Linked DNA regions of Homo sapiens: all the other regions are linked to region 4. Evidence: promoter capture Hi-C in 16 types of primary human blood cells and fetal thymus (Javierre and others, 2016). All regions are on one chromosome and are shown on one strand. The core of a region is centred on a gene start or on the middle of the fragment in contact, and the rest is flanking DNA. Distances in the headings are between cores, read along the strand shown.

Evidence for each region. Contacts are between HindIII fragments. The CHiCAGO score rates a contact against its expected background, and 5 or more counts as called.
Region 1: a contact is called between a fragment that was not itself captured here and the fragment with the promoter of P2RY2 in region 4, in 1 of 17 cell types (monocytes). The highest score is 5.8, in monocytes.
Region 2: a contact is called between a fragment that was not itself captured here and the fragment with the promoter of P2RY2 in region 4, in 1 of 17 cell types (total B cells). The highest score is 5.3, in total B cells.
Region 3: a contact is called between a fragment that was not itself captured here and the fragment with the promoter of P2RY2 in region 4, in 1 of 17 cell types (M0 macrophages). The highest score is 5.1, in M0 macrophages.
Region 5: a contact is called between a fragment that was not itself captured here and the fragment with the promoter of P2RY2 in region 4, in 1 of 17 cell types (naive B cells). The highest score is 5.3, in naive B cells.

The regions. Positions count from the first base shown.
Region 1 is chr11:72,931,936-72,936,528 of GRCh38, reverse strand. The region is part of intron 8 of FCHSD2 (FCH and double SH3 domains 2); the gene reads left to right. Among named protein-coding and RNA genes, the nearest start is that of ATG16L2, 120 kb to the right of the region's middle. The HindIII fragment of the contact is 1,737 bases long and covers 647-2,383 here.
Region 2 is chr11:72,896,507-72,901,105 of GRCh38, reverse strand. The region is part of intron 10 of FCHSD2 (FCH and double SH3 domains 2); the gene reads left to right. Among named protein-coding and RNA genes, the nearest start is that of ATG16L2, 84 kb to the right of the region's middle. The HindIII fragment of the contact is 2,491 bases long and covers 551-3,041 here.
Region 3 is chr11:72,915,835-72,920,329 of GRCh38, reverse strand. The region is part of intron 9 of FCHSD2 (FCH and double SH3 domains 2); the gene reads left to right. Among named protein-coding and RNA genes, the nearest start is that of ATG16L2, 100 kb to the right of the region's middle. The HindIII fragment of the contact is 2,179 bases long and covers 1,376-3,554 here.
Region 4 is chr11:73,214,913-73,219,611 of GRCh38, reverse strand. P2RY2 (purinergic receptor P2Y2) reads right to left here and starts at 1,331. Exons shown (of 3, transcript NM_002564.4): 1 at 1,180-1,331. LOC124902709 (a long non-coding RNA gene) reads left to right here and starts at 1,419. Exons shown (of 3, transcript XR_007062773.1): 1 at 1,419-1,585; 2 at 3,573-3,769; 3 at 4,424-4,699. RefSeq lists enhancers at 60-778, 779-1,497 and a silencer at 1,211-1,420. The HindIII fragment of the contact is 6,402 bases long and covers 1-4,699 here.
Region 5 is chr11:72,870,209-72,874,594 of GRCh38, reverse strand. All of the region lies in intron 12 of FCHSD2 (FCH and double SH3 domains 2), which reads left to right. Among named protein-coding and RNA genes, the nearest start is that of ATG16L2, 58 kb to the right of the region's middle. The HindIII fragment of the contact is 2,554 bases long and covers 723-3,276 here.

The sequences.
Region 1 (4,593 bases), core at 266-2,765, 280 kb after region 4:
TGCTGGGAGTACAGGCATGAGCCATGGCACCTGGTCGAGATTCTTGAGTTTGATAAAATCACACTGATAATTCCCAGGCAACCATGCCAAAATATATAGTAAAAAAAACAAGGGAATTAAAATGGTACATAGAAAATATTGATTTAACAGACCTCTTAAGGAGATACTATTTTTAAATTATTTTATAGATAAGGTAACAGACTTAGAGCAGTTCTACTGCTCAAGTACATAATAGAGTCAGACTCAGAAGCCCAGTCTGTCACCAAAATTCCTTACTATAGGCTTACAAGGGAGATAGATGAAATTCTCTGGTAGAACATAGAAATGGTTAAGCCCTATTATTTTAATAACCACCATTTACACATACCATACTCTTATGATTCTGTCAGATAAGGAATGGAAAGCTCAAGAACGGTCAGTGTCTTCCCAGAGTGATGGTTGCTAGTAAGTGGTAGAACTGGGATTTGAATGAAAGTATATAGGGTTCAAGGTTTTCTGTTGCCCATGATGTTTTGAGATGGCAACCTAAATATTATGTGGTTTTAGCCCACTCACAACTGGGTGAGCATAAGTAGTACAGCAGACCTTTTTCAGACATCTGACTTATCTTGCATGCTAGTAGTAATGCAAGAGGATAACACAAGCTTTATAGAAAAACAGCATTGAAATTTTCCTTTCCTGGTTTTGTAATTTACAGACATAAACTTCCTTATTTGTTTCCTCTTTCACAGAACATGAAGTAACCTGAAGTAACTCAGTGCTTTTAAATAAAACAACCACATAAAAAATTAGATGATATGTTTCTGATTTTACTTTATATCAACTGATAAATTCAACTACATATTAAGATATTTACAGTAATGTAAATACAGCCCAGTACTTGTTTTGATTTCTTGTAAAAAGCTACTTTCTCTTTGTAACCTGATTAGGCGTAGCTTGGGGTCTTCTGAAAAAGATAAACAAAAGCAAGGAGGCAGTCTGTTTTCTTCCAGTATCAGCAAAGAAAGACTGTAGAATTTCATGATTTAATTTTAAGACAACTCACATTTATCATCATCTTGATATTTATATCCTTGACTTTTACCAAAGTCTATTTTAGAAATGCCCGTTGCTCTCAGAAAAGAAGAGTTTGTTTTTCTAGGCTGCATTAAGGAAACTCAAGAGATTTCAGCAAAACTTTATTGCTGAAGAATCTGTGCCCCTCCTGGATCTAAATAAGGAGGGGACTGTTTAAAGTTCTTACTTTAGGGGAAATTACATCAAATGCTTAGGAAAATGACCCATTTTCCCTCCTAATTCATCATAATCTTCTTCTTCAAACAAGTTCTAGGACATTTACACTTTCCTGTAAGTAAATGTTCAGTGGAGCATTCCAGATTTCTAAGTTTCTGAATTTGTCCTTAGAATATTCCTTTTTTTTTCTTCACTATTTTGAGTATTTAACATTATGAGTTTGGGAGTTTAGGTTCCAAACTCAACTGATTTTAAGGATCAAGTAGATAAAATGAATAAAGAGGGCAGAGGTAATGTGTAAGGGAGTGTGTGGCCTAATAGCTACCTGGAAAGGACGTGGCTGCTTAAAGGCATTCAAATTCAATTGTTTAAAAATATTGTGGAGTCATTAAAACATATTGCTGGTCAAAGGTCCCATGGTTTCTCAGTTTCTCAATTACTACAGAATTATTCCCTTAGAAATTTGTGTCCAATAGTCAAAAAGTTTGGCTATTTTTTTAAGTATATTTGGATAAATTACCTACCAAGTTTTTGCATATTGGAGACCACCAAGGAGTTCATACTGCCAGATTAACTCACATTTATATAAACCTTGAAAGAATGCTTATCCTGCCATTTCTGAGCATTTATAAGTGAATTCTATCATTGATTAAGAAATTTATGGCCAAGCACAGCAGCTCATGCCTGTGATCCCAGCACTTTGGGAGGCCGAGGCAAGTGGATTACCTGAGGTCAGGAGTTTGAGATCAGCCTGGCCAACATAGTGAAACCTTGTCTCTACTTTAATAAATACAAAAATTACCCGGGTATGGTGGTATGCACCTGTAATCCCAGCTACTCGGGAGGCTGAGCCAGAAGAATCTCTTGAACCCAGGAGGTGGAGGTTGCAGTGAGCCGAGATAGTGCCGCTGCACACCAGCCTGGGCAACAGAGTAAGACTCCGTCTCAAAAAAAAAAAAAAAAAGGCATGGCTCTTCATAGAGGTCTCTTTGAATTGAAGTTTGTGCATGTCTGTTCACTTAAACAAGTGTAAAGAACATTCTTGTGTTTTGCTCATTTAAATGTAAAATGCTAGACAAGATACAGATGCATCTTCATCATACGTGCCCTTCTCAAACTGTTATGATACTTTTATGATTTGTTGTAAGCTTTAAATAGCTCTTTTTTTTTTTTTTTTTTTTTTTTCTGAGACAGTGTCTTACTCTGTTGCCCAGGCTGGAGTGTAGTGGCGCGATCATGGCTCACTGCAGCCTCAACCTCCCAGGCTCAGGCAGCCCTCCTACCTCAGCCTCCTGAATAGCTGGGACTACAGCCACATACCACCACACCTGGCTAATTTTTGTATTCTTTGTAGAGATGGAGTCTTGCTGTGTTGCCCAAGTTAGTCTTGAACTCCTGGGCTCAAGTGATACGCCCACCTAAGCCTCCAAAAGTGTTGAAATTGCAGGCATGAGCCACTGTACCCAGCACTAAATAGTTTTTACTTTACTTTAAATTTGTAAGAAATATATGCAGCTTTTGGATTGTATTTGCAATTCAGCTTTGACATAAAAATTGTCTACTTTAAGCTTTGAGATCTGTTTAATTGAAGAGAACCAGGAATAGTAAGGAAAGCAATTGAATTATTATTACTTGCAATTTATTGTCCATGTGAATCAACTTTTTTTCCTTACAATGCAACCAAAAGACACAATTTGGATATGGCTAATATAAGTTGGGTATCATTTATTACTCTTTAGTAAGAAGTCTTTTGATTGCAAATAACAATGACCCAACTCAAAGTAGCTTAGGCAAAACAGAGGAATTTGTTGGCTAAGGTAACCAAATCACAGAAAGGATGAGATGGTGCTTGCTCAAGAACTACCCAATTCAAGGACACTGTCCCTGTCCTCTGCCCACCATTCCCATCTTCACTTTGCCAAATTTCTCATCACTGCTTTTCTCTGTGAGTTGGTTTAATTCTTTCCTACTACAGATAGGCACTATCTGCTTGGTAGGAAGAATAACTTTGGTGGGAAGGATAGGCCATTTTTGGATTAATCTTTCAGCCTCTATCCCAGGGATGACCTAATTTAAGTCAAGGGACCACCTCCACCCAGTAATTAGGGGCAGAGGACAGTGGTTTGAGGTTCTGTCTTGCATATCTGCCTACCCTGCAAGTTTACCCCTGAGATCAGGACAGCAGGATCTGTTGCTAGAAGGAAGAAGAAGGCATGCAAGGTTATATATATTTTATGTCTTGGAATTCCACATAAAAGGATGCCACTACTGAAAATATTTGAAAATTACTGAATTAGAGTTTTATGAAATCAATTACTCCTTTAACTTGTATACGATTTTATAAATGTTATGTAACATCATTAGATTTCTCAGTCATGGGGCTCAAGTATAGGTTTATTCATTTTTTGTAATCATGCGAATTCTGATTGGTGTTATTATTTGTTGAACAGATATTTATTGAGCACTACCAGTATGCCAAACCCTATGCTCAACACAGAAGATGGAATGGTAAACAGACAGACCTGATGCCTCCCTTTATGGAACTTAAACAAAAAGAGGGACATACAAACAAATATCACCAGTATGAGGTTGTATGCTATGATCAGGAGTTATGAAGCAAAAAGACAATAGAGATATCCAAGTAGATGATTAAGTGAAGAGACTAAGGCTGATAAGAGTGAGCCAAACCATGGGAGAGAAAGCAGAGAGTAGTCAAGGCAGAAGAAAAGCCTGTGTGAAAGCTCAGAGGCAAAAAAGGAGTATTGGAGAAGCCAAAAACTGCATTGTAGAGAAGGTGTAATACGGAAGGAGAATGGGGAGTGAGTAATAAGTGAAGAAGCTGAAGAGGTATGCCAAGTTCAGATAATGTGGTCTGTAATGATTTTTTTAAAAGCCTTTTCCTAAATGTGATGAGTAGCCAGTGAACAGTGTAGAGCAGTCAAGTAAAATACACAATTTAGAAACATCCTCCTAGCTGCAGAGTGGAAATGAGTTGGTGAGAGGGAGAGTTGGATGCAGGGCAACAGAAGATTGCTGCAATAATCTGGATGAGACAGGATGGCCAGAGGGGAGTAGCTGTGGAGATCAGGAGGAGGGGTTGGGTTTGGTAAATATTTAAGAAGTGGAATCAATAAGATTTGGTAATTAACAGTATGTGGGGGACAAGGCAGAGGGAAAAGTAAATCTTCACTTCCAGGTTTCTGCCACAGGTTGGCAAGTGAATAGTGGCATCACACACTGAGGAACTCAAAAGAAAAGCAGATGGAAAAGAGAATGATTCAGTCTAAGAGGCAATTTGATGCACAGGTTAGAAAGTCAGAGGAGGGAAGTAGTGTCTGGTCAAAATATAAGTCAGTCTGA
Region 2 (4,599 bases), core at 547-3,046, 320 kb after region 4:
TTGGCAATTGTTTAAAAGCATACAGTAATCGTCCTTGAGTTTATGGGAAATGTTTGCCATTATTTAAATTTTTAAAAAAGAACAAAAATGCTAATTTGGTAACATAAAAATTGAAATTTAACTTCTGCAAAATGAGAAGGCACGCATTGGCATTATTAGTACATTCTGTCAATGTAGGCAAGCCAAAAGGAAAATCAAATTATATTCATAAAGTATTTTGATAAATTTAGAACCAGAACCAAGGGAGTTTATGATATAGTTCCAGAGTTTAATGGTATCAGTTTAATAGAAACACATTTGCCAGCGATATCTTCATTACTTTTCTTATACTTTAAGTAGCTCTGTTAGCAGCTATATAAAGAAATGTAGGAAATCAGCATTTCCCTCTATATTACAACCTTTGCCCTTTATAGTAGTGCTTTTTTTTTTTAATCAAATCAGCTTTTGCCAATGACTTATTCACATTCTCCTGTGATTTGACTTCTTTGAAGCCTGGGAGGGATGAAGCAGAGCATTAGAAGATACAGGGTATAGACAAGTGTGTCAAGCTTGTCTTAAAATTATGACTAATTTGATGTTATTTTATCATTGCTATTTTCCACAGAAAAAATCAGAATAACAGTGACTCTCATCTCACTTTTTCCCAGCCCAACTGCAGCCCTAAATCTTTTGTTTCTAAACACTGTGCTAAATGTTCTTAGGTGTTGTGTCCTTGTTTGCCTTAAATTTCTAACTCTATGCTATGTTTTTTGTCCTTGTGCAATCTTTACTGGGCAGAGTTTAAAAGCCGCCCAACTGGTGGATATTGAGCTCTCCCCTGTCAGTGCTCTGAGAATGACCATAGCTGAGGTATATGGGGTGTGGGTCAAGGGCGGGAGGGATGGGAAGTGTGGGTTTGCATGTTAATGAAGGGTGGGACCTGGTGTTGGGATGAAAGTTATGTATATACATGTATAAGAGGCCCTGATGCACCAGCTGTGTTTTCTCTTATAAATTAAGAATTTCCTTCCCTGTTTATAGTGAAGAAATTGAGCTACTCATTTTTCATCTTGTGTGAAGCACCTTAATCTTCTTCAACAGGTGTGCTGGAGAGAACCTTAGAGCTAATCTTGTCTTTATTAAAGGGGAAACTGTAGCCTAGTAAGGGAGACTTGTCCAGAGTCATACGGTAAATTAATGACATGTTACTGTTGTGATTGCAATAGTAATGTTATGTCTGCTGTGCTATTCTGTCTTCTAAGAAGAAATGTTCAGGACTTGGGAAGCAATTAGTTTTTTCATAATGGAAAAAGATAAATGCCTATGATTTTAAAAAATCATTCCAGACCTTCAATCATTTAAAAAGTCTTTTTTTTTTTTTTTTTTTTTTTAAGATAGGGTCTTACTCTGTCACCCAGACTGAAGTGCAATGGCATAATCACGGCTCACTGCGCCTCAACCTCCTGGGCTCGAGCAGTCCTTCCACCTCAGCTTCCCGAGTAACTGGGACTACAGCTGATTTTTATTTTATTTTGTTTTATTTTATTTTTATTTTTGGTAGAGAGGGGATGTCACCATGTTGCTTAGGCTGGCCTTGAACTCCTGGGCTCAAAAGATCCTCCTGCCTCAGCCAGACATGTATTATTGTCTGGCTCTGATTATAATCATCCTAGTGGATATGAAATAGTATCTCGTGGTTCTGGTTTGCATTTCCCTAATGACTAATGATGTTGAGTATCTTCATGAGTGTATTAGCCACTCATATATCTTCTTTGGTAAAATGTCTATTCAAACCTTGTTTCTATTTTTTTATTGGATTGTGTCTACTTGTTATGAATTAGATCTTGAAGATGAGTTGCAGTTTACTCTGCAAAGAGGGAGAAGCAACATGCCAGGAAGCAAAAACAAAAATTGAAAAGAATAAAAATAATAGGTGACATTCATTGAACATTTATTTCGTGCTAGACATTTTTCTAATGGCATTACCTATATTAATTTATTTTATCTTCACAACAACCCTATATTGTAGGTGCTATTTTTAATCCTTCTTTTACAGTTGAGGAAACTAAAGTTAAGAAATCTGGCTGGGTGCAGAGGCTTACGCCTGTAATCCCAACACTTTGGAAGGCCAAGGTGGGTGCATTGCTTGAGCCCAGGAGTTCGAGACCAGCCTGGGCAACACGGCGAAACCCTTTCTCTAAAAAAAAAATAATAATAATAATACAGAAAACTAGCTGGGCATGGTAGCACACACCTGTAGTCCCTGCTACTCAGGAAGCTGAAGTGGGAGGATCACTTGAGCCCGGGAGGTGGAGGTTGCAATGAGCCGTGATCACACCACTGCATTCCATCCTGGGTGACAGAGCAAGACCCTGTCTTTAAAAAAAAAAAAAAAAAATAGAAAGAAAAGCAATTTGCTTTGCTCAAGGTCACTCAGCTAATAAGCATTAGAGCCAGAAAAGTTTGAAAGTACATGACTATACCTGAAATAGCAAGTAGACTTGATGATGAAAGTGGGATGCAACCAGGTGTTATTTTTGAGTTTTATATATGATGGTAAATGGAGAACTATATACTCAGGTAAGATAGTAATAGGATGAGATCCATTGCAGGGGCAGGACAGTATTGTTCTTTTATTTTGAATTTTATAGTTTGAATTAGGAATTTTGAACTGCTTATGGGTTTAACAAATTTATTTTTCATTTACTAAGCAGACACTTACATATACTTTGCATATGCCCTTGCCTTACAGGCAAGAGAATTCAGCAAATATTTTATCTAAATTTACGTAAGATATAGTTAGGAAAGTTATAGGACTTTTAAAGTTACCACTGTGATAAAATGTAACTCTTCTGATGATTTTCATAAACTGTCTTAAAATTTTTTTAACTTTTTAATATAACCCATTTCAAACTACACTGTTTTCCCTACAAAAGTCCAAGACACCCAATTGAATATGTATAGTCACAGTATTATTATAGTAATTTAATTAGGGCTTTTTTGGGTAGAATTTTAATATTAACCAAAAGATGACTACAAGTGACAGTGACCAATGGCAAGCTTTGTTCTTATGTAGTAACTTAATAGCTGTCTCATGGTTAATACTGAAGGATTTTCTTATCTATATTTCCATAAGAGAGTTACTGATTTCTAAAGTGTTCTTTCTTTATATCTTCAATTATCATTTCTCAGATGATACCAGAAAGCCAGAGCTCTTTCTAGAAAAAGTAAAATACATCTTTTTTGCTGAAATGACTTTTTAATGCAGAATTTTTCTGAGGAGGATATGGAATGTGCCTTTAAATCTTCCTGTCTATAATAAGAATATTCTGTGAGAGAGAACTGACAAACACATTTATTAGGATCTCAATGTTAGAGTCATTCAGCTGACACATGGATCACACTGGGGTTAGTGATTCATACAGGTGGTGTACAATGGAGAAAACATGGGTTTGGGTGTCTAAACTAGCAGTTTATTTACATATATTTAACTTTTGTGATTCAGCTTCCTCATGTGTAAAATGACAACAGTTGTCCCTTGGTTTCCATGGGGGATTGATTCTAGGAACCTCTTTGTGTACCAAAATTCACAGATGTTCAAGTCCCCTATATAAAATGATGTAATATTTGCATATAACCTGTGCACATCCTTCATATATTGTAAATCATCACTAGATTATAATCCCTAATACAATGTAAATGCTATGCTAATAATGGTCCTATTACATTGTTTAGGAAATAAGACAAAGAAAAAAAGTCTGTACATGTTCAGTACAGACACAACTATCCTTTTTTTTTTTTTTTTTTACTCTTTTTAAAAAATATTTTTGATCCACGGTTGGTTGAATCCACAGATACAGAACCCACAGATATGGAAGGACAACTATACCTTATTTGTTTGAAAATTAAATAGGATACTAAGCATTTAACTCAATGCCTGGCACATTGAGTCAGAATAGATGTTAACTGACTTCTTAAAATCTTTCCACAGGACGGCCGGGCGTGGTGGCTCACGCCTGTAATCCCAGCACTTTGGGAGGCTGAGAGCTGAGATGGGCGGATCATGAGGTCAGGAGATTGAGACCATCCTGGCTAACATGGTGAAACCCTGTCTCTACTAAAAATACAAAAAATTAGCCGGGCGTGGTGGCGGGCACCTGTAGTCCCAGCTACTCGGGAGGCTGAGGCAGGAGAATGGCGTGAACCTGGGAGGCGGGGCTTGCAGTGAGCCGAGATCGCGCCACTGCACTCCACCCTGGGTGGCAGGGTGAGACTCTGTCTCAAACAAAACAAAACAAAACAAAACAAAAATCCACAAGGCAAGCATATTTCTTTCTTTTTTTTTTTTTTTTTTTTTTTTTTAGTATTTTCCCCCTAATTGCTACAGGAAATACCAAATATCAAATATAGAAGACATTACAAATCTTGAAATACTTGCAATACTTTTGCAGTCATGATCCCTAGCTCTCAACTCCCTTATTGGATTGATCACTAAAAGTCCCTTGGGACTTTTGTTCTACTTATTCCACAAAGAGGATCTCATCAACGGCCTTCTTGGCAGTTTGTACATCTGAAAGGCAATCTGTTTGGAATAATTTTAAGTACATGACTTGTACTTTT
Region 3 (4,495 bases), core at 1,216-3,715, 300 kb after region 4:
CCATTTCATTTATCAGATTTGATGTCATAAACTTGTTTGCTTCTAGAATTGTCTCTGTTTTTGTTTTTAATATTGTGTGTGCCCTCTGTCTTATTTTGACCAGACTTGCCAGTCTATTTTATTAATCTTTGCCAAGAACCAGATAAAATGACCTTTATTCTGCTTCTCAGTGTTGTGTCTATTTCCTTAATTTTTGCCTTTATATTCATTATTTCTACTGTCTTACAGTTTATGTTATTGTTCTTTCTCAAGCTTCTTTTTCTATTTAGATCCTATATTTTCAGTCTTTCTTGTTTTTAAGTAAATTTGTTTAAAGCTTTTAAAAAAGTGTCTTTCTGCTTGAACTGCATTCTGTGATATGTAGGGCTTTTGTTTTATATCTATTTTTTTCTCCTTATTAACCCATGATTATTTAGAAATGAGTTTTTCAGTTTCCATTCAGTTGGAATATGTGGTAGGGTGACATTTTTATTTCTAATTTTATTATAAATTGTATTTTTAATCCAACGACATTTATTCTAATTTTATTATAAATTGTATTTTTAATCCAACGACATTTATTCTAATTTTATCAGAGAGGTTATCTTCTAGCAAAATTCTTTGAAATGTTTTTTTCCAAGAATAAGTTGGACTGGAGACACTACCCTTAGTTTATAAAACAGGAAACATTATAGTCGTAACAGATAGCTAATATTTTACACACACTTAACAATTTCTTAAGACTTTTAGCATGGGATATATCTTGAATCCCATGAGGTCGCCATTACCATGTTCATTTTATATGGAGGAAATTGGACTCAGAAGTTTATGTGGCTTGGCCTGAGGTTACACACTCACACATAGTGCTTTCCATGATCTTCTACTATATTCTCTTTAGCTTGTATTATTTTAATAGAAAATGAATTAAGAATTTATGAACTAGTTTGGACACATAAAGAGATAAGCTTTCATTTTCTGCATTCACTCATATGAGTATCTCACTCCCCAGAAATGAGGAATAAATGAGATGCTCTTACATTTAAATTGAAAGTGGTAGGAATAAAAATTTAATAAGAATAATGTAGTGCCCTTTTGTTCCAAGTACCAGAAGAGGCCTACAAGTTTTATGCCATGTGTTTTTCTGTTATGAAGAGCTTGTTATGCTGCTCTTGCTATGCTGCTGAAAGCAACCTAAAGGGAAGTTTGACACTTTTTAGATTTTTTTTATTTTATATTATTATTACCATGTTCAAAATGTGACATATCCCCAAAGATATTTTGGTGGTAATTCATCCAACATACTGTAAATGTTAAAGTGCTTCCTATATCATTCATCCCCTAAATGGAAACAGATGGCCCTAGGAGCTTTTGTTAAACTTTAATTATTTATGAAGCTTGCTTTTCTTCTTAATATTTTATGAAATGCTTTGTATATGTAACTGAAGCAGATGTTGTCATAGGTATTTTCTCTAGGATAGTAACTCTGAAGGTAGCTCTACTGGCCTTTATAATTTGTTTGTGTGTGCTTGCTTTTTGTCTCCATAAGGAAATGCCTTCCAATTAATAACAAAGTTCATTTAAGAATTCAGAAAAATAAATTTAAAAAAAGAATTCAGAAAATAACAATGTTATTCTACATTTATTTGAAAATTAATTTGTCTAGTGTTACTGTTCTTAATACTTCGAAGTCTAACCAAAAAAAGTAGATAAAAGGAAGGAAAAAACTTCATGATCATTTCAATAGACACAGAAAAAGATTTGACAAAATTCAGTACTTTTTTGTGATAAACACTCAGCAAACTAGAATAGAAGGGAACTTACATAACATGATAGCATCAACCAATGTCATATTCAATAATGAAAGACTGAAATCTTCCTCTGCTAACATCAGGAACAAAACAAGGATACCCATTTTCACCACCGCTATTAACCATTGTACTGGAAGTCCTAGACAGGGCAATTCGGTAAGAAAAAGAAATAAAAGGCAGCCAAATTGAAAAAGAAGAATTAAAATTACCTCTCTTTGCAGATGACATGATTATATTTATAAACTCTCAGAGAGCCCATTAAAAAAACTAATAGAGCTAATAAATTTAGCAACATATAAGATAAAAACACAAAAATCAGTTGCATCTCTATATTCCATCAATGAATGATCCAAAAAGAAGGTTAAGAAAATAATTCCAACTACAATAATACTCAGAGAATAAACTATCTAGGAATAAACTTAACCAAAGGAGTTAAAGGCCTGTACACTGAAAACTATAAAACATTGCTGAAAGAAATAAAAGATATAAATAAATGCATATAATAAATGTTCATGGATTGGGAGATTTCATGTTGCTAATATTGTAATATTCCCCAAAGTGATCTACAGATTCAATGTAGTCCCTATCAAAATTCCAATGGCCTTTTTTGCAGAAATGGAAAAGCCGGTCCTCAATTTTTTTTTTTTTTTAATTTGAGACAAGGTCTCACTCTGTCACCCAGGCTAGAGTGCAATGGCATGAGCTCAGCTCACTGCAACCTCCACCTCCCAGGTTCAAGCGATTCTCCTGCCTCAGCATCCCAAGTAGCTAGAATTACAGGCATATGCCACCACGCCTGGCTAATTTGTTTGTATTTTTAGTCAAGACGGGGTTTCGTCATGTTAGCCAGGCTAGTCTTGAACTCCTGACGTCAAGTGATCCGCCTGCCTTGGCCTCCCAAAGTGCTGGGATTACAGGCGTCAGCCACTGCACTCGGCCCAGTCTTCGAATTAATATGGAACTACAAGGGACCATGAATAGTTTAAACAATATTGAAAAGGAAAAATAAAGTTGGAGGACTCACACTTCCCAATTTCATAACTTACTATAAAGTTACAGTAGTAAAGATAGCGTGGTATGGACATAAGTATAGACATATAGACCAATGAAACAGAATTGAGAGTTCAGAAATAAACCTGAACATCTATGGTCAATTGATTTGCAACAAAGGTGCCATGACTATTCAATAGAGAAAGAATATTCTCTTCAGAAAAAGGTTTTGGGACAGCTGGATAGCCACATGCAAAAGAATGAAGTTCAAGCCAGGTGTGATGGCTCACGCCTGTAATCCCAACACTTTGAGAGGCCGAGATGGGTGGATCATGAGATCAGGAGTTCAAGACCAGCCTGGCCAATATGGTGAAACCTCATCTCTACTAAAAATACAAAAATTGGCTGGGCGTGGTGGTGGGTGCCTGTAGTCCCAGCTGCTTGGGAGGCTGAGGCAGGAGAATCGCTTGAACCCGAAAGGTGGAGGTTGCAGTGAGCTGAGATCGTACCACTGCACTCCAGCCTGGGCGACAGAGCAACACTCTGCTTCAAAAAAAAAAAAAAAAAAAAAAAAAAAAAAAAAAGAATGAAGTTCAATGAAGTTGTGAACCCTTACCTCACAAAATTAACTCAAAATTGATCAATGACCTAACTTATAAGAGAAAACAGAGATAGATCTTTATGACCTTGATTTGGCAGTGCATTCTCAGATTTGACGTTGAAAGCACAAGTAACGAAAGAAAACATAGATAATTAGACTGTATCAAATTAAAAGCTTTTGTGCATCAAAGGACATTATTAAGAATGTGAAATCAACCCAAATGATGAGAGAAAATATTTGCACATCACATATCTGATAAAAGTTTCATATTCAGAATATACAAAGAACTCTTACAACTCAACATCAGAGACAACCCAATATAAAAGTGAACAAAGGAGGCTGGGCACAGTGGCTCACGCTTGTAATCCCAATACTTTGGAAGGCCAAGGTGGGGGAATTGCTTGAGCTGAGGAGTTCAAGAGCAGCCTAGGCAACATAGCAAGACCCTATCTCTACAAAAAAATTTTTTAAATTAGCCAGACATGGTGCTGCATACCTGTTGTCCCAACTACTCGGGAGGCCCAAGTGGGAGGATTACTTGAGCCCAGGAATTGGAAGCTGCAGCAGGCTATGATCATGCTACTACTGTACTGTAGCCTGGGTGACAGAGCAAGACCCTGTCTCTTTAAAAAAAAAAAAAAAAAAAAAAAAGTTGTGTACCAAAAGGTCAATGAAATTAAAAGCTAGTTTTTTGAAAAGATTAACAAAATTGATAAACCTTTTTTTCCCTTTAATTTTAATTTCAGGGGTACATGTGCAGGATGTGCAGATTATGTAGGTAAACTTGTGTCATGGAGGGTTTGGTACACATTATTTTATCACCCACGTATTAAGCCTAGTACCCATTAGTTATTTTTCCTGATTCTCTCCCTCCTCCCACCCTCCACCCTCTACCCTCTGGTAGGCCCTAGTGTGCGTTGTTCCCATGTGTTCTCATAATTTAGCTCCCACTTACAAATGAGAACATGTGGTATTTGCTTTTCTGTTCCTACATTAGTTTGCTAAGGATAGTGGCCTCCAGCTCCATTCATGTTCCTGCAAAGGACACGATCTCATTCTTTTTTATGGCTGCATAGTGTTCTGTGGTGTATATGTACCACATTTTCTTTTCTTTTCT
Region 4 (4,699 bases), core at 82-2,581:
CCCTAGGGAGGGGCACAGTTGGGATTCTGGTTCTGGGAGGCTCCTTCCAGGGACTGACTTCCCATCCCCAAGCTGTGAGCCTGCCCATGGGGGGACACTGGTGCTGAACATGACACACTCATCAGCTCCTCAACAGCCCTCAAATTCCTTATCATTAGTCCCTTCTTACAGACGAGGCCACTGAGGCTCAGAGAAAGGACGGCTTGCCCAGGCCACACAGTGGCCAAGACAGGATTGGAACATAGATCTCTGAGTCTCCAGAGCTCTCTTGTGGACCTGTCTGCTCAGAGAATCTTCTTCCTTCCACTTCCACCCACAGGTAATAAACTTGCCTGGGTCTCCACCCAGATCCTCAAAACTCATAATTATTTCAGCTTAGATCCAAAACAAACCAGGCAGATCAGGCTGTGGTCCTGGGAAGCTGGGGATGCCATGCTGAGAGGAACAGCAGCCATGGACCCCACAAATCCCGAGCTGGCAATTCTGGTCTCCAGCAGTCCCCAACCCTTGGGCTGCGCTCCTGGAGGACCCCAAGAGGGCCACTGGCAGCCTTCGGGTTGGGGGGTGGGGTATCGCCTTTCTCCTGACTGACCCTTTCTACCGCACCATTTGCCAGATTAAAAGCCCGGGGACAGAGGCTTAACTGTCCTTTCTGGCCACTCCCTCCTCCCCCGCCCACTCCCTGCAACTGCCCCCTCAACATTACCAATGGTAGGTGGCCACCCAGAGTGACCCTGGGGTTAGGACAGTGGTAGGGGGTCTCCAGGGGTTCGCGTCTCTGGGCACCGGCCACCGCCTCACGCCACGGGGACGCTCACATCGGAGCACACACAGACAAGTTCCGCAGGCTTGGCCAGTCGCCCCGAGGGGCGCACACACTCACCCGCTAACACGCAGACCTCCCCAGTACGCTGACGCGCACAGCCTCACTACTGGGGCGCCCGTCCACACTCACCGAGACCGACGCTCCCGTGGAGACAAAGTTCAACCACGGACCCACAGGCGCGTTCAAGCCGTCCAGTTATGCGCTACACGCCGGCTCGCAACTGTGCCCCGGGGCGACAGCCGCTCCACAGCGCCCTCCCCTGCCCCGCGCCCAGTCCGCACCTGCGCCAGTCTGGCCCGCCGCTTCCCCGGGCCTCTCCCAGCGCCTTGTTCCCTCCAGACGCCCCACCCCACCTCTCGCCACTGCGCTGCGCTTCTCCTCTCAGGGTGCCGTCGCCGCCGCTCCCGGGTGCCAGTGCCCGGGTCCCGCCGCAGCCGCAGAGACCCACGTGCCTGGGAGCCCGGCTACCCACCTCCCTGCGCTGTTCCCCAACCCCGAAGCCGGGCCAGGCAGGGGGCGGGGCGGACTTTTGACTGACCCTGGCACCGCCCTCAACCCGCCCGGGTAGACACCGCGCCACCCGCTCCGGGACGCCGCCCAGCGACAAGGCCGCGGGGTCAGCGTGTCTGTACCGGTGCTGCAACGGGAGGGTCGGGCGGCGACGCTCTCACTGCCGGGCCAGAAGGAGGCCTCCCGGCTCCCTCACGCTAGAAGGGAGCTGGTTACCAGAGGTTTTCAGAGACGCCAAAGTTTTGCCAGGTCAGCCCGGTGCCTGCGTGGCCCACTGCGGGACCTTTGCGCCCAGCCACCGCGCCACCCTACCCCTGTCCCGCCCCTGCCCCAGCCCGGCTGGCCAGGAAGGGACCTACTGGGAGATACCTGCTCGGAACCCCAGGCTAAGGACGTACCTCCCTTGCTTGAAAGTGGGGGAAGGGGGTGCCTCTCTCCATTACCGTGGTTAGGAAAGCAGGGTACTCAGGATCCCGCCTCTCCCGTGCTCCCCACTTTCCCTGCCTTAATCTTATCAGCAGCTCCCTGAACTCCCCACTCTGGCCCCTTATCTTGAGCTGCTTTACCTCTCTTCTCTGTCGTCAACCCCACTCTAATGGCCTTCCCTGGTCGGGCTACCGGCTGCATGTCTGACCCGTTCGGAGACTGTGAGCTCCCGAGGGCAGGAACCAGGTCTGCCTTCTTCCTGCTGCTGTCCTAGAGGTCCTGGGAGGTGCTCAATCCTTGAAGGTGTGAATGGATGAATGAATGAGCACCCCGCCTCTCTCTCATTTCTGGTCTAGGAATCAGGAGTGTAGGTTCCTGTCTGGCTTCAGCACTGACTCTGGGAGACCTTGACCCAGTTCCATTCCCTGGCAGGGTCTTCTTTCCTGTGAAATGGAGCCAATCGCTCCGCTGGCTGGACAAGTGCAGAGGAGGCCTCTTCCTGTAGCCAAGGAACTTGCCCCGGGCCTTCGGGGCCTTGGGCCCTCTTGGGCTCCATATCAGCTGACTGGGCCTGGCTGCCAGGAAGGGTGCTGGCTGCAGCCCCACCAGGAGCAGTAGCAGAGTGGACACACAGCCCATAGTGGCTGAGCCGCCTCTGCAGTCCTGCTGGGGCCTTTGCTTGGGAGACACAAAGGCCCCTTGTCTAGCCTCCTGCGCCTATTGTCTAAGCTGGGCCACGCACCTTCCAGGGACCTAAGTATCCTCATAGCCCGAGTTATAGGGCCTAGGCCTTCAGGTTCCAGTGTGGGGAAGACCCTTTGGGCACTGGAACTCCAGCCAACCCTCTCTTTCTCTCCCCTCTTCCAAAACTTCAAACCTTATACTGTCACTGCCATTTAGCCCAGGAGAAACAAGTTTCTTTGACGCCAAGTTGAGGACCCAGGCTCGACCTTAGCCTTCAGCGGGCAAATCTGGTTGGTGGCCTGCCCAGGGCTCTGCCCCTGCTCTGGCCCAATTCCCTTACTTTACAGCTGAGGAAACTGCATTCCTGAGACATACAGCGTTTCAGCTACCACACAGGTGACTTAGTGAGGCTTGAGGAGCAGAGGAAGGGGCCTAGTCCTTGAACCCCATAGCCTTGGGTTTAGATTCCAGTCTTACCTCACCTGTCCTATGACTCCTCTCTGAGCCTGAGTTTCCTCTTTTGCAAAAGGGAGTAATACTAATCTCTCACTTGCTGGCCTGTCTTAAATTTTTTGAGAAAGGGCCTCACTCTGTCACCCAGGCCGTAGTGCAGTGGCATGATCACAGCACACTACAGTCTCTATGTCCCAGGGCCAAGGGATCCTCCCATCTCAGCCTCCCAAGTAGCTGGGAATACAGGCACATGCCACCATGCCGGGCTAATTTGTAAATTTTTTGTAGAGATGGGATCTCCCTGTGTTGACCAGGCTGGTCTCAAACTGCTGAGTCCAAGCAGTCCTCCTGCCTCGGCCTCCCAAAGTGCTGGGATTCCAGGCATGAGCCCCTGCACCCTATCCTTAAATTCTTTTTTCATGGTTTTATTCATCATCCCAAGCTGTCTGGGCTCAAGGCGTTAGTATCCCATGCAATGAGGGCCTAGAAGTTTCGTCTCCTGACATCCTCCCCAGGCAGTCCCATCGCTGGGTTTCAGAGGCCATCAAGCCCAGCAGGCTTCAAATCCCCCAACAGAGTCCCCCTTACCTGGGGCTGCCTGGGGAACTCCCATCCCACTTCAACTTGAGCACCTTTGCCTTTGTATTTTTATTTATTTACATTTCCTGGTAAGAATTTGTTGCAAGCACATGAAAGATTTTGTGGCTGAAGTAATGTAAAACCATTGATCAAACCGGAAATTGAGACACAGCCAGCGTCACACAACAGGCCATCTGAAAGGCTGGAATAGCATCGAGGGAGTCTCCCTGGAACCAAGCAGCCAAGGCAGGCTAATGGTGAAGGCCCAGGCACAGTAATGGTCCCCTGGAGGTGGGTAATGGAACCATGGGGGCGGGAGGAGGGTTCCATTAGCAGTAGCAGATCAGGAGGGGAAGGGCAAAGTTCCAGCCTCAGCTTCTCCCATGTATTAGGAGGCTTCCTGTCTCTCCAGCCCTGAGGAGGTATTTGGCTCATTCAGGCCTTTTCATCCTCCTTCTCTCAACTTCTCTCATTGCCCCTGGGAAAACTTGCTCTGAAAATGCATGCTGGGGATGAAGCCTCTGCCCTGGCCCAGGCTCCAATCCCCCCTTCCCAGGGTACAGTGGTGTCTCTGTTGCCCCTTGATGCCATACCCTGCCTTACACTCTCTGGTGGCTCCACCATCCTCTGGATAAAGCCTAGCTCTCTAGCCTGCCACTCCAGCCTCCCTGCCTCTCTGCCTCACCTCTCACCTCTGACCAGCCTCCTGTTGCCTCTTGCTGCTCCCTCTGCCCACAGTGCCCCCTGCTTCTGGCTCCCCACCATGGGTCCTCGAAGACCCAGGCCAGGTGCCCCACCACTTACCATGCTGTTATTGCTATCACTGCCTGTCTCCCCCTCTAACAGGGATCTCTCTGAGAGCAGAGCCAGGTTCCATTCTGTTCACAATTAAATGGCCAACACCTAGCACTGTCCCTGAATAATTTTTCTTTTTTTTTCTTTGAGATGGAGTCCTGCTCTGTCATCCATGCTGGAGTGCAGTGGCGTGATCTCAGCTCACTGCAACCTCCGCCTCCTGGGTTCAAGTGATTCTCCTGCCTCAGCCTCCCAAGTAGCTGGGATTACAAGTGTGCACCATCACACCCTGCTGATTTTTGTATTTTTAGTAGAGACAGGGTTTCACCATGTTGGCCAGGCTGTTCTTGAACTCCTGGCCTAAAGCGATCCACCCGCCTTGGCCTCCCAAAGTCCTGGGATTACAGGCGTGAGCCACCGTACCTG
Region 5 (4,386 bases), core at 750-3,249, 350 kb after region 4:
GCAATTAAATGACTTGCATATGTGATTTCTAAGAAAGAGCTTGTTGGTTCACTCTTTTAAAAAACAAAAATAAAAACATTTCATTGTTTTAAAATGAATACTAGAGGTCAGGCACAGTGGCTCGCACCTGTAATCCCAGCATTTTGGGAGGCTGAGGCAGGAGGATCACTTGAAGCCAGAAGTTCAAGACCAGCCTAGGCAACATAGTGAGACAGCTGTCTCTACAAAAAATTTTAAAAAATTAGCCAGGCATGGTGGCATGCACCTGTAGTCCTAGCTACTGGGAAGGCTACAGTAGGAGGATCACTTGAGCCCAGCAGTTCGAGGCTGCAGTGAGCTATTGTCATACCACCGCATTCCAGCTTGGGCAACAGTGAGACCCTGTCTCTTAAAAAAGCAAAAGCATACTACAATGGTGCTAGGGCAAGTGGATATCCATATGCAAAAGAATGAAGTTTGACCCTGTTAAAAGATAAACTTAGGCACATTAAATTTTTTTTTATTTGAGAAAATAGTGATAATTACTTGGGCAGCACCAGATCATATGCAGTTCAGGGTTCCACCAATGGAACACCAGAGGAATGCTTTTATAGGGTGAACTCAGAAGCAAAACAAAGCAAATATTTGATTGGTTAAAGTGGCACGGTAGTATCCTTTTTTGGATCATTCCAGTGGAAGGTTTCTAGTTAGAAGGTAGTTGGCAGTTTTTGATTGGTTAAGCTTCAGTTTTGTTTTACCATTTATACTGAGTTGAGTTTTGGTTTGCTTACGTAGGAACCCGGGATGCTGGAGCTGCCTCAGTTTAATGACCTTCCAGTTAATTATCTTAACAACCCCACTTTACATCATATATACAAACTAACTCAAAATGAATACCTAAATGTAACAGCGAAAGCTAATAAACTTACAAAAAAAACCACAGGGGTAAGTCTTTGTGGCCTTGGATTAGTTTCTTAGATATAACACCAAAGCCTAAGCAGCAAAAGAAAAACTAGATAAATTAGACATCATCAAAATTTAAAACTTTCATGTTTCAAATGACACTATCAAGAAAATGAAAGACAGCCCACAGAATGGGGGAAAATATTTGCAAATCATGTATCTGATAGAAACTTACTTCTAGAATATATTAAAACTCATAATAATAAAAAGGCAAAAATACTCAACTTAAAAATGGGAAAAGGGTCTGAATAGACATTTCTCCAAAGAAGATGTATGAATGACCCATAAATAAGCACATGAAAAGATTCATTTTTTTTTTTTTTTGAAACAGAGTCTCACACCATTGCCTGGGCTGGAGTGCAGTGGCGCGATCTCGGTTCACTGCAGCCTCCACCTCCCAGGTTCAAGCGATTCTCCTGCCTCAGCCTCCTGAGTAGCTGGGATTACAGGCACCCGCCACCGTGTCCGGCTAATTTTTTGTATTTTTAGTAGAGATGGGGTTTCACTGTGTTGGCCAGGCTGGTCTCAAACTCCTGACCTGGTGATCTGCCCGCCTCAGCCTCCCGAAGTGCTGGGATTATAGGCATGAGCCACCGTGCCTGGCCTAAGATTTGTAACATTAATAGTTATCCAGGAAAATGCAAACAACAGTAAGATACCACTTTATATCCACTAGCATGGCTAGAGTCAAAAGACAGACATTAACAAGCATTTGCCAGGATGTGGAGAAACCCTCATCACCCTACTGGTGGGATCAAATGATAAAGCCACGTTGAAAAACAGTCTAGTATTTCCCCAGATGGTTAAACTTAGCATTACTTCATGATCCAGCAATGCCAGCCCTACATATAAACCCAAAAGAAGTGAAAACATGTCCACACTAAAATTTATACACACACGTTTATAGCAATATTATTCATAATAGCCAAGAAATAGAAACAACCTAAATGACTCCCAACTGACAAATGGATAAACATTCTAATGTATATCCATACAATAGAATGTTATTTGGCCATTAAAAAAATGAAATACTGATACATGTTACAACATAGATGAATCTTGAAAATATTATGCAAAGTGAGAGAAGTTAGTCATAAAAGACCATGTATTATATTGTTTCATATGTGTTAAATGTCTGGAATAGGCAAATCTTTATAGACAGAAAGTAGAATAGTGATTGTCAAGACTGCAGGGAATAGGGGGCTGGAGAACAATAGGTAAATGGTACATGGTTTCTTTTGGAGGTGATAAAATATTCTAAATTTGACTGTGGTGATGGTTGCATGTACTATGAATATACTGTAAGCCACTGAATTTCAGACTTGAAATGAGTGAATTGTGTGGTTCTAAAAAAAAAAAAAAAAAAGAAAAGAAAAAAAAAGTTGTGTGCCAAAAGGTCTTTGTCACCTGAGCTATATGTCAATAAAGTTTTACCAAAAAAAGAAATTATGAAAAGAATAAGCAGATTTTTGCAAGAGTATTTACCAATTGGAGTGCCTCTAAGCCAAAAATTCCAATTGTCTTATATAAAGACGTATATGATACCCCAAACCATTGTATTGTATACTTTAAAATGGTGCAGATAGTAAATTTTATGTAATGTTTTACCTCAATTTTTATAAAAATCTATTTGCTTAAAAACGTTAATATAAAAAAAATTAATTCAGCAAAGAAAGCCCAGTGATACAAGTCAGAACATAAATTGTTTTTGATATCAACTCCCCAAGCAGAGAATTCGGAGGGAAATCAAAATTATGTACCTGTTGGGCACAGCAGTTCACACCTGTAATCCCAACACTTTTGCAGGCCAAGATAGGAGGATTGCTTGAGCTCAGGAGTTCAAGAGCAGCCTGGGCAAAAGAGCAACCACTCTGGCTCTAAAAAAAAAAAAAAAAAAAATTATGTACCAAAGGTATTTGTCACTGGAGTGCAGTGGCTATCTATTCACAGGCATGATCATAGCTCACTGCAGCCTCAAACTCCTGGACTCAAGTGAGCCTGCCTCCTCAGTCTCCTGAGTAGCTTGGACTCCAGGTACAAGCCACTGCACCAGCTCCAACTTGTTTGTCCAAGAGTCCCACAGAAAGCCACCAAGTGAGAGTGGAACTTTACTTAGGTTAAGTAAGTGGAACCTTACTTAACCTAAAATTAGCTTAGTGGAACCTTAAATGTTAAGGAAGAGATCACCACTTGCATATGTGAAACAATGAAGCTGAATGCATTACTTGCTAAGCAAAAGAGGCTGAATGTTTTACTTGCTAAGCAAAAGAGAATGACACAAAACACATTGACTCTGAACAAAGCAAGAGTTGATATATAGGGTTTTGAGAAGCTTGAATGTCAGGGATTGGCAGATTTTCAAAACTAGGAATGTTTAAGGGGTTGGCTCACTTTCAGCCTTGGTTTTTAGAGTTTGGAGGACTAGTAGAAGCAGAAGCTGTCACAGATTAGCTGACTTTCAGAGGCATGGCTGTTGGAGCAAAGCAGCAGTTACTTTCTGATCGGGAGGGGTTTAAAACTAGTTCTGTGGTTACTTGTTTATGGTTTATGGAACAAGGGCTAAAGAATAAGCAGTTATTCCCTTTCTTGAATTTGGAGAATAGGAACTTTTTATTCTCAATCTCTGCTATTTCTGCCAGCCACATCATAAATGTAGTTTAAAAGCAAAGACATTACTGTTAGTCAACAAACAAGTTAGTCAATAAAGGCAGCCAAGTCAAAGGGGGAATTCTTTTTTTTTTTTTTTTTTTTTTGAGACGGAGTCTCGCACTGTCACCCAGGCTGTAGTGCAGTGGCGCAATCTCGGCTCACTGAAAGCTCCGCCTCCTGGGTTCACGCCATTCTCCTGCCTCAGCCTCCCGAGTAGCTGGGACTACAGGCACCCGCCACCACGCCCAGCTAATTTTTTGTATTTTTAGTAGAGACAGGGTTTCACTGTGTTAACCAGGATGGTATCGATCTCCTGACCTCGTGATCTGCCCCCCTCGGCTTCCCAAAGTGCTGGGATTACAGGCGTGAGCCACCGCACCTGGCCCAAAGGGGGAATTCTTTAAGCTTGTGCTGAAGAATGTTAGAATTGTTAGAGAGAAGTTCTTTTATATTAAAAATTATTATTATTAAAGAGACACAGTAGTTTATAACTCAATATCATTGAATGGCAGTCTTTCAAGATTGGTAGAGCCAATCTTGAAAGAATTGGTAGAGCCTATTCAGTCTTTTCTTGGAAAAGTAGAAGCACAGTTATATAGGATATTTATTCAAAAAAGGTTACTGAACACATAACAGGAGAATAACGCTGAATGTCAATGCTCGAGTCTTAAAGGAGCCCCCAATTATATCAAACAGGCATACTTAGTTAAATAGCTAAGTATAATTTCGTGCCTATCACATTGTAATTAGATCTATATAGAGTGCTTTAGGAGCAGAGAAAAAGGAATTATTAAC